Linked DNA regions of Homo sapiens: region 1 is linked to region 2. The links are contacts of gene promoters, found by promoter capture Hi-C in human tissues and cell types (Jung and others, 2019). All regions are on one chromosome and are shown on one strand. The core of a region is centred on a gene start or on the middle of the fragment in contact, and the rest is flanking DNA. Distances in the headings are between cores, read along the strand shown. Region 1 overlaps ARHGAP11A-SCG5 (ARHGAP11A-SCG5 readthrough). Region 2 holds the start of ARHGAP11A (Rho GTPase activating protein 11A).

The links. Contacts are between HindIII fragments. The study calls those that stand out against the background at their distance.
Region 1: a contact is called between a fragment that was not itself captured here and the fragment with the promoter of ARHGAP11A in region 2, in 1 of the 25 tissues and cell types used here (hippocampus).

Annotation. Positions count from the first base shown.
Region 1 is chr15:32,647,318-32,653,802 of GRCh38, forward strand. All of the region lies in intron 10 of ARHGAP11A-SCG5 (ARHGAP11A-SCG5 readthrough), which reads left to right. The region is part of intron 2 of SCG5 (secretogranin V); the gene reads left to right. Among named protein-coding and RNA genes, the nearest start is that of SCG5, 8.8 kb to the left of the region's middle. The HindIII fragment of the contact is 6,064 bases long and covers 566-6,485 here.
Region 2 is chr15:32,613,672-32,621,013 of GRCh38, forward strand. It overlaps ARHGAP11A (Rho GTPase activating protein 11A), which reads left to right and starts at 1,833. Exons shown (of 12, transcript NM_014783.6): 1 at 1,833-2,669; 2 at 6,437-6,507. The coding sequence starts at 2,541. ARHGAP11A-SCG5 (ARHGAP11A-SCG5 readthrough) reads left to right here and starts at 1,805. Exons shown (of 14, transcript NM_001368319.1): 1 at 1,805-2,669; 2 at 6,437-6,507. The coding sequence starts at 2,541. ARHGAP11A-DT (ARHGAP11A divergent transcript) reads right to left here and starts at 1,075. Exons shown (of 3, transcript NR_135833.1): 1 at 766-1,075. The HindIII fragment of the contact is 9,261 bases long and covers 1-7,342 here.

The DNA of each region.
Region 1 (6,485 bases), core at 2,348-4,847, 35 kb after region 2:
CCCAACACATGGTACATAGAAGACAAATATCTATCTTGTCTACTTAAATAAATTAATTGTATGATCAATGGATCTTAACAAATGTGTATATTTGCTCTCAAATATAGAATTATAAATTGGCCTTTTAGTATAGGAATATAGTATCAGTATAAATTAATGTTAGGTCAGTGAGGTATCATATATCCCATTAAAAAAAACATATCTTCTTTGATTCCATATCCCTTCTAGTTACTGTTCCAATTTTCTGCTGCCTTTCACAGCAACCTTTCACAGCTGCCTTTCACAGCCTTTCCTCACATGCCAATTGTACTTCTTCACCTCTCATTCTCTCCTGGTCCATTGTAGCCCACTGTTCTCACCGCTCATTCATTAAACCTACTAGTATTTATTGAGTGCCAGGCACTGTTTTAGGTACTGAGGAAATAAACGTGAACAGCAAAGTAGCAGGGCGAGGAAATGTAGTCCTTAAATAAACAAATAAGTATTGGGCTTTCCTTTTTTCCTTTTTTTCTTTACCCATTTGTTAGTTTCGTTTACAGGTTTCTCTGGCGGCCTTTAAAAGTTAAGTTCTCCAGGGCTCAGTGCTGGGTCCACTTCTCTTATTTCCCTCAATTCTCTATCTACTTGATCTCATTCATTCTCTTGACTCTCAATCCATTTCTTGGCTGGTGACTCCGGTGTTTGTATTTCAGCCCACATTTCTTTCTTGCATATCCATAGGCTTACACTAATTGCTAAATTGCCAGGTTTCGATCCTGATTTCTCAAACCACCACCTTCCCCAGCCTGTTTATATCAGTCTTTTCTGTCTAAATGAGTAGTGCCCCTGCTTAGCCATATATGCAAACTAAATACCTACAGTAACCCTTGATTTTCTCCATCACACTTCATGCCTCAATTTTAAGTAATTTATTTCATTTTTATCTCTAAAATCCATGTGCAATTTCCTGTCTGCTTCTCTCTAGCTCTACTCCAAACACCCTGGTCCAAGATACCATCATGTCTGGCATGGAGTTTTGAAATCGCCTCCTAACTCATCTTCCTGCTTCTATTCTTGATCCCTTTTCGATTGTTCTTCACAGGAAGAACAGGAGTTAAACTTTTTTCAGGAGTTAAACTTGAAAAGTTTAAACCATATTAGTGTCATCTCCGTAGTTACAATTCCATTGGTGGCTTCCCATCGTACCCTGAATAAAAATAACCCTTCTTGCCATGACCTACGAGGATCCACAGCTCCAGTCAATCGTACTCCCTACTTTGTTCCACGCATTCTGGCCCTGAGTCACACCGGCCTCTTCCCACCTCAAGGCTATCAACACATTGGATGGGATCAACAATGGGAGGCTATCAACCTCCCATTCCTTGTGTAGCGAGTTTCAAAGTCACCCACTCAGAGAGGGCTGCCTGACTGCCCTGTCTGAGTAGCACCCCCCTACATTCTCTGTTGCAGTCTCCTTTTTTTTTTTTAAAAAAAAAACAGAGTCTCACTCTGTCCCCCAGGCTGGAGTGCAATGGTGCGATCTCGGCTCACTGCAAGCTCCGCCTCCCGGGTTCTCGCCATTCTCCTGCCTCAGCCTCCCCAGTAGCTGGGACTACAGGCGCCCGCCACCACGCCCGGCTAATTTTTTGTGTTTTTAGTAGAGACGGGGTTTCACCGTGTTAGCCTCCTGACCTCGTGATCCTCCCGCCTTGGCCTCCCAAAGTGCTGGGATTACAGGCGTGAGCCGCCATGTCCAGCCTTTTTTTTTAAAGCTCCATAGCATTTTTTGTCATTTATAATCATTGTTTGTTTTCTTGCTTATTGTTTATCTCTCCACTGGAATGTAAGCTCCATGAGGCTATATCTGCTTATTAACTGCATTATATTCCAGGCACATAGTAAGCATTCAGTAAATATTTGAGGAATTAATGTATAATATCAGGGGGAAATAAATATACCTAATGGCAATAAGTATGTAAATACTGTTTTACATCTGGATCTGTCAAGACTTTCTGCCTTTTAGTTCAAGGAAAATATTCCATTTCTATTCTGTTTTTAAAAATCTCTGCCTAGAGGTTCTTGCCATGAGCTTAGTGATAATGTGGTGAGCAAAAATGTCTGTTATCTAGAATTGACTATGACTGTGATCACCATGGTGCAAGGTTTGTGCCCTTTGTACAGCGCCTACCAAGGAGCTAGAAGGACTTTTTGCAGTCCTGGGACTAAACCAGCAGAGGGCCAACTAGACTAGAAGTTTATTTTGGAAGATTCCTGAACCCTGGTAGCCAGCCTCCTGGTCGTTAATAGCTTTAAGTGGTCGCTGGGGTAGAAGCATTTGCCAAAACATCCAGAGAGGATTGGGGGTTATGTTTAACTTCTCCGTGGGCGCCTTAAAAACAGCTTGGTAAGGAGCATCTTTCAAATGTGTAAATTCTTAGTCCAAAGCAAATAAAAACACAAAGACAAACAGGGACCTACTTGGCATTACATGAAAAAAAAGAGTGTGTATGTTTATGGCAGAGAACTCGGGTTAACCCGTAGCCGTACTATTTTCTAGCTATGTGTAATCCTGGCAACTTTCTAAGCCTAGTTCTCTCAAATAAAATCGGCCCAAATAAAATGGGCTTGTCTGGTTCGAGTTGGTGTTTGAAAAATAAAAATAAAATAAAATGGGGTTTCCAGCCCACTCTTACATGCAATCAGTGGGTGCCATTAGTAACTGAATTGCAGGCCTTCCTCCTCTCACTTTGTGGATTATCAACAACATGTTTTCAGTCTTTAATGGCTTACCCCAATCTTATTTATTTATTTATTTTTTGAGACGGAGTCTTGCTCTTTCGCCCAGGCTGGAGTGCAGTGGCGGGATCTCAGCTCACTGCAAGCTCTGCCCTCCCAGGTTCATGCCATTCTCCTGCCTCAGCCTCGCGAGTAGCTGGGACTACAGGTGCCCGCCACCACACCTGGCTAATTTTTTTTTCGTATTTTTAGTAGAGACGGGGTTTCACCATGTTAGCCAGGATGGTCTCGATCTCCTGACCTCGTGATCCGCCCATCTCGGCCTCCCAAAGTGCTGGGATTACAGGCGTGAGCCACCACGCCCGGCGCCCCAGTCTTATTTTTGATTACTCATCAGTTAGCAATACAGTTCAGATATGCTTCAGTGCACCATATATTTCAGCAGTAACCATCTTCTCCCAAGCCCACGGTTGCTCACTGGTCTCCAAGACATAGCTAAATGGCTACTGTTGTATTATCCCCAGAAACAAATAAAGCCACCAACTGTCCAGGGGACTGATTCGGAGAACCATGTGCTGTGAGATGGGAGCTCTTGGGAGTTAGAACTGGTTGTGCCAGCTGACACTGATGATGGCCTTGGATGGCCTTGGATGAATCCAACCAGAAAATGTGCTTTCGTTTTCAGAACATTAACAGCTTCAGGTAAAAGATAGGCTGCTCAGTGCCAGCTGTTCATTTTCCCCACAGTTCTAGGCCACCAGCTATCTAGCACTGTGATAACACCAGTTATCTAGCCATTAAGATAGAAATGTATAAACATTAGCATTTGATGGCTCTGAGTAATTTTAAATCCATATTGCCAAACATTAAAATACCCACGTTCTGCCGGGCGCGATGGCTCACGCCTGTAATCCCAGCACTTTGGGAGGCCGAGGCGGGCGGATCACCTGAGGTCAGAAGTTCGAGACCAGCCTGGCTAACATGGTGAAACCCCGTTTCTACTAAAAATACAAAAAATTAGCTGGGCATGGTGGCACGTGCCTGTAATCCCAGCTACTCGGGAGGCTGAGGCAGGAGAATCGCTTGAACCCTAAAGGCAGAGATTGCAGTGAGCCAAGATCGCCCATTGCACTCCAGCGTGGGCAACAAGAGCGAAACTCTGTCTCAGAAAAATAAAATAAAATAAAATACGTTCTTTTTTATAACACTGACTGTTGGACTTCAAATTTTTCACTTAGAAATAGAGACCCAAGGTTATTTTCTTAATAAATATCAAGTGGAGAAAGAGTCCTGTGGATGATAGGCTACTTGAAGAGGCAGATCCTAGGAGCCTCTACTCTGCCAAGCTTTGGCCTTGGTAAAGGAGCTGCAGTGCCTCCGCTTTGCCACAGGGTGGCAACAGTTGCTTCCCATTTGAGGATGGCGGGGTGAAGCAAACCTTGAACTGTAGGGGACACTCCGTTTCTGGCTAGTCTCTCTCTGCAGTTGGAGAAAGCAGTGCAGCTGACTCTTATGTGTCTTGACTAAAATCTGTTTCTAGGTTATCCTCACCCTGGAGGAACCAATGAGAACATTGGGCTTGTAGGCCATCTATGAATGGACTGGGACCGCCCAATGGGCCCATGCCTTTGGGGTTGCATTTTGTCCACCTTGAACTTCAATCCTTAAAGTCTCTGGATGATTTTCAGTTTTTCTCTGTTGAGCAATTGCATGGATAGTAATGAGAAATTCAAAAGAAACGGGGAGGTTCTTTTTGGGAGGGGAAAAGGATAGGAAAGATGAACACGATGACATGTTTGTGTATGTTTACAGTGTCCTGGGTATCCAGAAGGCACTTAGATGTATATGGCACAGGAGAGAAGTCTGGGAGAAGGAAGGGTTTCAGAGTCATCCCCGTGTTAGTGGTGGCTGATACTGTAGGGGTGGATGGGGTCACCCTGGGTGGGTATTGAGAACAACAGGGCACCTAAGACAAAGGCCAGGTAGATGAAGAAGAATCCACAAAGGAAACTGGGATAAATCGGCCAGAAAGGAGAAGAACCAGAAAGATAGAGTGTAATGAAAACAAGGAAATAGTGTTCTGAGAAGGGGCAGTGGTTACCACTGTCAGGATCAGCAGAGAGGTCACATGAAATAGTAAAAACCACTGGGTGTCAAGTGTTCACTGGGGGTAGCAACACAGAAGTTACTGCTTTGTGGGGGCTTTGGGCAGAGCCGGCTCTGGGGAGTAGTGGGGGCCCACCATACCTGCAGGGCATTGAGGGGATAAACAAGGAAGAAATGCAACGTATAAATGTGTTCCCAGAATGTCAGGTAAAGGGGAGATGAGTAATAGCTGTGGAAGGATTGGGGGAAGGGTGAATGATTTAGAGCTGAGGACGGTTTCTGTTAAGGTTGTTTTAGGATGTGAGAAATTGAACTTGCTGAAGTGCTAATTGCTAAGAACCAGCAGAGAGGGAGAGTTGAAGATGTGGGATGGGGAGCAGCAACTGAGGAGGTGGGAGAGGATGAGGACTGGAGCACAGGTGTTGGCCTGTGTCTTAGGTCTTTCCTTCCTCCATTGGGGAAAAAGGAAAGTGGCAAAGGTGTGCTGGGATACAGAGCTTTGGAGGTTTTGGCCTCAGGTGTTTGCAAGCACTGTACTAATTCTAGCCACCTTCTCAATTAAAATAAGAATACAAGAATGAAATGCAGTCTCCCAAATCTCTTTTCTTTGCCAGCTTATACATTTATACACCTCACTGATATGTCTTTTGATGTTTTAAAATTTTGGACAGCACTATTTTTAACTTTTACAACTATAACTATTAGTTATTTACTAGTTATAGTATAAACTTTTAATATTTACTTTTTATAACTCCTAGATGTCTTGTAGATCAAAAGATCTAAAGTGTCATCTTTGTCTATTTTATATCTTGTTTAATAGTAATAAATGTTTTAGTGAAGCATAAACCTAGAACAAAAATAGAAAATAATCTTAATAGGGTGTTGGGGAATTTTATGTGAACACTTCATGTGTCTTTGGAACAGTACAATGTAAAAAATTAGCACAGCCTTATTGCATGCACAAAATGTGAAATAATGTGAATCTTCCCCAAATAACAATTTGTCAAGAATCACAATTTCAAAGTAGTAGGCTTAGTAATTCTAAACAGTGATCGGTAGAATCTGTCATCATCCTCAATTAGGATTGTTCTTGAATTTTGTGAATTTTCAATCACGAGTGAGATCTTTAGTCCATTCCTTAAATAACATGTGACTATCTTAGAATGTCAAAGAGGGACACAGAAAACTAGATAACAACTCCTGAAATTAAGTTTGCTGTATGGCAACTACTAATTGCTCTGCCAGTTGTCTGACTGTAGAATAATCCTTGTGAAATATTCACTTCTATATGGGTTGGAGCCTGGGTAAGTCTGAGCCCCAGTGTATTTTCATGGAAGTCACTAGAACCAGATGTAAATCCTGGGTTCTCTAGAGAAACAGACAAACAGAACCAATAGAATGTATAGAGAGACAGACAGTTATTTTAAAGAGTTGGCTCATATAAACGTGGGGGCTGGCAAGTTGAAAATTTGTAAGACAGACTGGAGACTTGGGCAAGAGTTGATAATTTTGAGTCTGAAGACAGTCCAGAGGCCGAATTATTTCCTTTTCAGAGGACCTCAGTCTTTTCTCTTAACGTCTTCAGTGATTAGATGAAGTCCACCCGTATTATAGAGAGTAATCTGCTTTTCTTAAAGTTCACTGATTTAAATATTACTCACTTT
Region 2 (7,342 bases), core at 583-3,082:
GGGCCTGCTGGCAGACGCCTGTAATCCCAGCTGCTTGGGAGGCTGAGGCAGAGAATTGCTTGAACGTGGGAGGTGGAGTTTGCAGTGAGCCGAAATTGTGCAACTGCACTCCAGCCTGGGCGACAGAGCGAGACTCCATCACAAAAAAAAAAAAAAAAAAAGAGAAAGGAGACGAAAAACAAGAAGAGCTCAGCTTTAAAAAAGGATCACGACGTAGAAAAAGACACAACACTGAAGATTGTCATGGGTCTTTAAGAAAAGGAAATTTGAGACGGCTAAAACGCCGAACAGTGTGGAGTTTGGGGAAGAGATGTGGCTAAAGACAGCGTAAGCAATTTTTTAAAGTTATGTCTGAAGCAAGAAGAAAAGACAAGGAATAGGTTCAGTTTCATCTCTGATACACCGTTTCTTGTTAAAATTGATGTTTTTTTCTGCAGGCATTTGCTTCCTGAATGATGGTCCCACTCAGCCATCCACCTATACTTTCTACAAAGTCAATTTATACTGATTCTTCAGATCAGTTAATCACTGGTACGTTTCCCCTCCCCGGTCAAGGATCTTTTATTATACGCTATCATAGAATCATATTCCTTTCCTTAGCGCACTTCTCTCAACTGATAAGTGCCGCCATTAATGTACTTACTTGATAAATATATGCCTGCCTTTCCTCTTCCAGGGCCGAAACTGTGCCTGGTTTTGCTCATCATTCTATAGTCTATAGCACGAGTTCAATAAACAGTTGTTAAAGCAACATATTTAACTTACATTTTGTTCCCATCTCTTCACTCAGAGACTTTTCTTTGGATTGGGAAGGGTAAAATATCCGAAGATTTGAACTCCAAAAGAAACAAAATGATTCTATGCAAACGTTTCCTACTTAAAACTCATTCATTGGACAAATATTCACTTAGTCCCTGGCACTATTTGGTAATAGGAATACAGGAGTGCATATGGCAGATAAAGTTCTGTTGCTGCCCTTACCAAGTTTCGTGGGGGTGAGATGTGGTGTTAGTAAATGCATACTATTTTGTCTGTATTTAAATCGAGTCCAAATCTCTCGCTCTACAGCCCGCCTTGGGATGTTTCTTATATCCCAAGAAACAGAATATTTTGATGGGATCGCTGATGTTTCAGACTGCAAAAGCAGCTCAGGGCGTTTGCAGTCGTGCAAGTCAACAAGATAACCGTCTGGACCGGAAGCTGGGCTCCTCCCGGTCTCCTAACGCCAAATCCAACACCAAGCTTCTGCAGCTGCCACCTCCCGTAGACTTCGCATTTCTTCCGCACTCTCCTCTCACGACGGGTCTTCTTTGTTGTACTTAATTTCCTACGCAATAAGATTTCAGCATGACCATCAGTCCCCCAAAGACTAATTCCCACAGAGCCGAAGTTCCCACCAAGGGCCGAGGGTTAAGGTTACTAAAATCAGCGTTTCTGAATCCTGTCTCAAGTTGTCTCATCTGGGCTTCCGTAAGAACGGTTTCTTCATAAGAGGGCCTTCAGCGACAGCCAAGCTCGGAAAAGAACGGGAATAAGTTGTCTTTTATATTTCCTCAAATACTGTGAATGGTCTGAGGCGCAGGTCAGGTGTATTTAAAAACCTTTAAACAGTATTCCCCCGCCCCAAAAACTGGCCTTGAAGGAACAAGTGAAACTCATCCTGCTTTTCATGTTTGCTGGGTTTGCCCGTTACACCCCTTCGCCCGCACTTATCTAGACAGGCAGCTCTCGGCCACCCTCCGGGGTCCTGATTTTGAAAAGAGGAGTGGACCAATCAGATGTGGAGCGCTGTTTCGCGCTGCCATTTGAGCCTGGGCTGAAACTGCGGGTGTGACCCCCCCGTGGTGGCTCTGGGTGTCTGCGGAGGAGCTGGGGGCGGAAGCATGAGGCTAACGGCTTGGCTTCAGTGAACGCACCGGGATGTGCAGGCCGGGAGGTAGAGGCAGGCTGATGGGGGAGGGAACGAGCAGCCTGTGAGACGGGGTGACGGCGGCTACCAGCCCGGGCGGGCACCGGGACTGGAAGAGTTGCCTGAGCAGCCGGCTGGTCCGGCGGCCAGGCTAGGGCGGGGGCGAGCGCCCAGTTGAGCCTGCTGGGGCTGGAGGAGCGAGAAGGGTTTTCTTCACATTTCAGAGCGAACCAGACGGGGACAGTAAGGTTTGGAGGAAGGGGGATCGTTGGAAGTAGCAAGAAGTGGAGAGAATCTGGCAATAGACGAGAAACCGAAAGAATCAGAAAGAAGTCTATGTGAGTAGCTGAAAGCATTGGGTGACCAGAAAGAAGGTCGGTGTAAGTGAAGGAAGAGTGAGGTGTGGCTGGATCAAAGGGCTAAGAGAAGCGGGTCTGTGTAAGTGGATGTGAGTGAGGATCAAGGAAAAGCCGTGGAAGTGGCCGGGGGTCGGGGCCGCAGAAGTGCCAGACGGGGCCGGAAAGCAGCCGAGCGGAGTTCAAATTTGAGAGCGTTTGGAAATTGGAAGACTTGGTGGCGAACGAGGGTCAGGACCTGCATCCTGCCTCAGAGAGTTATCGACGTATCCGGAATGTGGGATCAGAGGCTGGTGAGGTTGGCCCTGTTGCAGCATCTGCGGGCCTTCTATGGTATTAAGGTGAAGGGTGTCCGTGGGCAGTGCGATCGCAGGAGACATGAAACAGCAGCCACGGAAATAGGGGTAAGTTCTGTGAAAAGGGATTTAGGTTTAAAAGAAAGGGCACACCCTTTATCATCACTTACTACCAGATCGTGCTAAAATGTTCACTCTGTGTATCAAAAAGAATGGTTAGGTGTGTAATTCAGTTCAGATGGTCGATTGCTGATATTTAAAAAGTGACATTCTTGTTTTTTTTCCCCCAAGGATTTTTGATCATTGAGAGAAAGTTGCAGGATTTTCCAACTTCAGCACTATTGACATTTTGGATTAGATAATTTTTGTTAGGGGAAGACGAAATGCTGTTCTGTGAATTGTGGGATGTTTAGCGGGATGTCTGTCTTTTACCCACTAGATGCTGGTAGCATCTCTCAGTTGTGACAATTAAAAATGTCTCCGGATATTGCCAGCTTACTGTATTTGGAACAGGTAGTACGTTGGGAGGGACAAAAACTCTACCCCTCCACCCTTGTTTTAGAGTAAGGTTGTAGAGGGACAAGGGAGACCAGTGCATTTTCTACATGAATCTGTAGATGAAGAAGTATGACAGAACATTAGAAATAGGCTTCAAATGATGACTGCATATTCACTAATTTGGGAAACAGATTTGCTGCTTGGCCATGTCATACTTTTGGGACAGTAAATTTTTTTTTGTATGAGTAAATTGAGAAGCCAGAGTGGAATAATTGAGAAGTTGTTGATGTTTTGGTGGTTGAAATAAAGGGATTTTGAATGAGATTTTAATAGCTCTGCCACATAATCAGGAATTCCATTGTGAAAAATAAGCTGAATGTAAAGCATTTTATTTTAAATTTATGTGCCTAATTTATATGGTACTTCCTAGTACTTGGAGACAAGCTAATAAAATTAATATACGTTGCTTTTAATAGTTTATGGTTTCTTAAAAAAAGTGCTTGGAGAAGAAAACCACTAACAAAAGTAATATGTGTGCCTCTTAATCGCTGATAAACTTTGGAGAAGTTATTTTTGTTGGTAGCAAATTAATGGCAATACATGTACTTACATTTAAAAAGCTACAGTGATTTTTTTCTGATTGTAAAACTGGCTTTCCAAGATCTCAAATGTAGCTGATTTTGTAAGTATATGGAAGAGTTTGTATATGGACTTTTTTTCACCCCTTTTCTTTTCTTTTCCTTTTTTTTTTTTTTTTTTGAGATGGAGTCTCCCTCTGTCGCCCAGGCTGGAGTGCAGTGGCGCGATCTTGGCTCACTGCAAGCTCTGCCTCCCGGGTTCACGCCATTCTCCTGCCTCAGCTTCCCGAGTAGCTGGGACTACAGGCGCCCGCCACCACACCTGGCTAATTTTTTGTATTTTTTAGTAGAGACGGGATTTCACCGTGTTAGCCAGGATGGTCTCGATCTCCTGCCCTCGTGATCCGCCCGCCTCGGCCTCCCAAAGTGGTGGGATGGCAGGCGTGAGCCACTGCACTCGGCCTTTTCACCGCTTAACAAGAAAAACTGTTGCCTGTTTTCAGAGTCAGATAGACCTGAGTTTGAGTGCTGTTCCACCCCTACTACATCTGTAAACTTGGGCTGCTTGTTTGATTTCCCTAAGCTTCAGTTTTATATATATAAAGTGGGAACGTATTTCTCCTTGGATTATTTAGGGATTTTTAAAAAGTGAAGCTCTTTATGTAGGCCTAGCACAGTGCGGGTAACATGCCACTTCTTCATCTAATGATAGTTGTCATATCATTGGTCTGCCTCCTAATTGGTAATCATGCCATATAAATTCAGCTAGAAACACTTATAAGAATATTCTAATGAAGAAATATAGAAGATCATTGTGTTAGGAGATCTAATGGGATAGTTTGTTTGAAAACAATTTCTTTAGCCGACTGGTGTTTGTTAGCTAACTGTAGTTTTAAGTTTTAAAAACATTTTATGAGATTAAATTATAGTGGTTACTTGTGAGGCCAGTTATTCTAAATAATAAGACTTAAGGAAAAAAACACGCTGAATTCTAGTTATATATAGCAGAAGTAGACTTACCAGCTTAAGTATCTGGTTTATTTTTACATTTGGTTTGGCTGCACAGTATCAAGAAAATTCTGATTTACCCAATAAAGGGGTTGCCCATACTAACATTTTTTAAAATAGTTCAGCTTAAAATGATGATCATAATATTAACAAATATTTTTTGAATGCTTACTGTGTGTCAGACACTGATACAAGTGTTTTGTATGTTTTAATTTATTTAATTCTTCCTACACCTCTATGACTTAGGATCTGTGTGAGGATACCGAGGAACAGAATGTTAATTTGATCCAGGTCACTCAGCTGTTAAGCAAGAGTTAAGATGTAAAGCCTGGCATTTTTGTGTGTGCGATGGCTCACGCCTGTAATCCCAGCATTTTGGGAGGCCGAGGCGGGTGGATAACGAGGTCAGGAGATCGAGACCATCCTAGCTAACACGGTGAAACCCCCCCCCCCCCGCCCCACGTCTCTACTAAAAATACAAAAAAATTAGCCAGGTGTGGTGGCGGGCGCCTGTAGTCCCAGCTACTCGGGAAGCTGAGGCAGGAGAATGGGTGAACCCGGGAGGCGGAGCTTGCAGTGAGCCGAGATTGCGCCACTGCACTCCAGCCTGGGCCACAAAGTGAGACTCCCTCTCAAAAAAAATACACCTGTCATTTTTGCCTTCAGGAGCCTACTCTCTTAAGCACTTACTATACTATACTGTCTTTTCAGCTTACAATATTTGTAAATTAATTGGAGCCAGGTGCTTGAAAGGGAATTAGTAAAATTTTGTTACTGTGTTGCGTCATTGACAATGCTGAGTGGTTTTTATTGTAAATATAAAGTTAAATATAATGCTCATAAAACATAAATACTTCTTGGTTGATAACTTGTGACATCAAAAAAAGTACTTCAGCATTCACAGAGCAGATGCATGTAAACTAAATTAACATGTGAGATTATGCATACCCACTTAAGTTTGAATAACCAGACATTTACAGGCTTGAATTTACCTTTCAGTGCTGTGGAAAGCGACACATTTTTAAGAGGTTCGAATGCATGCACAAAGATAGTGGCAGATTCTTTATTCTTCAGTGTGCAAAAACATTCAAGTTAACCAACACACAGCTTTACTCTTGGGATCTTCAGTGTATTAAAATTTGAATGTGAGGTTTTAAAAATGGGTTTCCAGCTAGTTAAATGAAGTTTGACTTAAATATTTGCACACTCCTGCCTTGCTTACTGCAGGGCATGGTTTGAAAAGCACTCTTCTATAGAAGGTGGAAAATGTATTAGGTATAAAAATAACTTCTTCTGATGTAATTTTAGGAAGACTCAATGAATGACAGGAATTAGTGTTTTGCTTTTCAATTGACTTAGTCTTTTGTGTAAGTATTTATAAGGTGACCAAAAGAAAGTATCTAGTAAGTATTTATAAGGTCATTAAAGCAACCTATAGTATTTTGGGGTAAATGTTAGTGTTTTGGACCAAATTCTGTTTTAAGAATTTACTGACTAACCACTAACCAAATTGACTTTATGATCAGATTGGAAACTTGAGTTTACTAGATTATTTGAGGGGAATGACATTATCTTGGCCATCTTTGTACTCCCAGCACTCAGCATACTGTCTAATATAGTAATTATTTGTTATCAAATGCACTTGAAATGATTATTTTTGTCTTGATAGATAGTTTATCATTTATTTCTGATTTTTTTTTAATTTCCTGAGTTCTTTAATTTGCCTAAAGTTTAAGAAAACTGATATTATGCCTAATATTTGTGTTAGAGTAACTGAATTTGTCATTTTAGGGTAAAATATTTGGAGTACCTTTTAATGCACTGCCCCATTCTGCTGTACCAGAATATGGACACATTCCAAGGTAAGCAGAGTTTGAAATGAAGAAGGCCGGGTGCAGTGGCATATGCCTGTAACCCCAGCATTTTGAGAGGCCGAGGTGGGCAAATCACTTGAGTCCAGGAGCTTAAGACCAGCCTGGGCAACATGGTGAGACCTTGTCGCAAAAGATAGAAAAATTAGCTTGGCGGAGCACACTTGTAGTCCCAGCTACTCAGGGGCCTGGGGTGGGAGGATTGCTTGAGCCCAGGAGGTGGAGGCTGCAGTGAGCCTTCTAGCCAGGGAAATGAAGAAGAAGAGAGTAAGCATTTCAAACTGGTTTTAGAGAGTTTAAAAGAAATAGTTGATTAAAACATAATTGTTTCAAACCAGCAAATGATTTAATCTCTCATAATGTTAAAAATATTTTTTTAACTTTTACATATTTTAAATTTATAATTTGTACTCATTCCCAGGATTGAATTTTAAAGTCCAGTAATGAGTAAATGTTAGAAATCACAAAAAATTTTTGTTCTGTTAAGTCAGTTTTCAGTTCTATGTGAATTCTTTTGCCACAACTCAGATTAAGTAATATACTGACTTACCAATTCAGTAATAATTTTGACTTTTTTTTGTTTGTTAAAAAAATATTGGCCAGGCACAGTAGCTCATGCCTATAATCCCAGCATTTTGAGGGCCGAGGCAGGAGGATCGCTTGAGCCCAGGATTTTGAGACCAGTCTGGGCAACAAAGCAAGACTCCATGTATAAAAAAAATTTTAAAGAAAAATCAGCTGGGCAAGGTGGTGTGCACCTGTAGTCCCAGCTACCTCTGAAGCTGAGGCAGAGGATTGTTTGACCCTAGGAGTTTGAGGCTGCAGT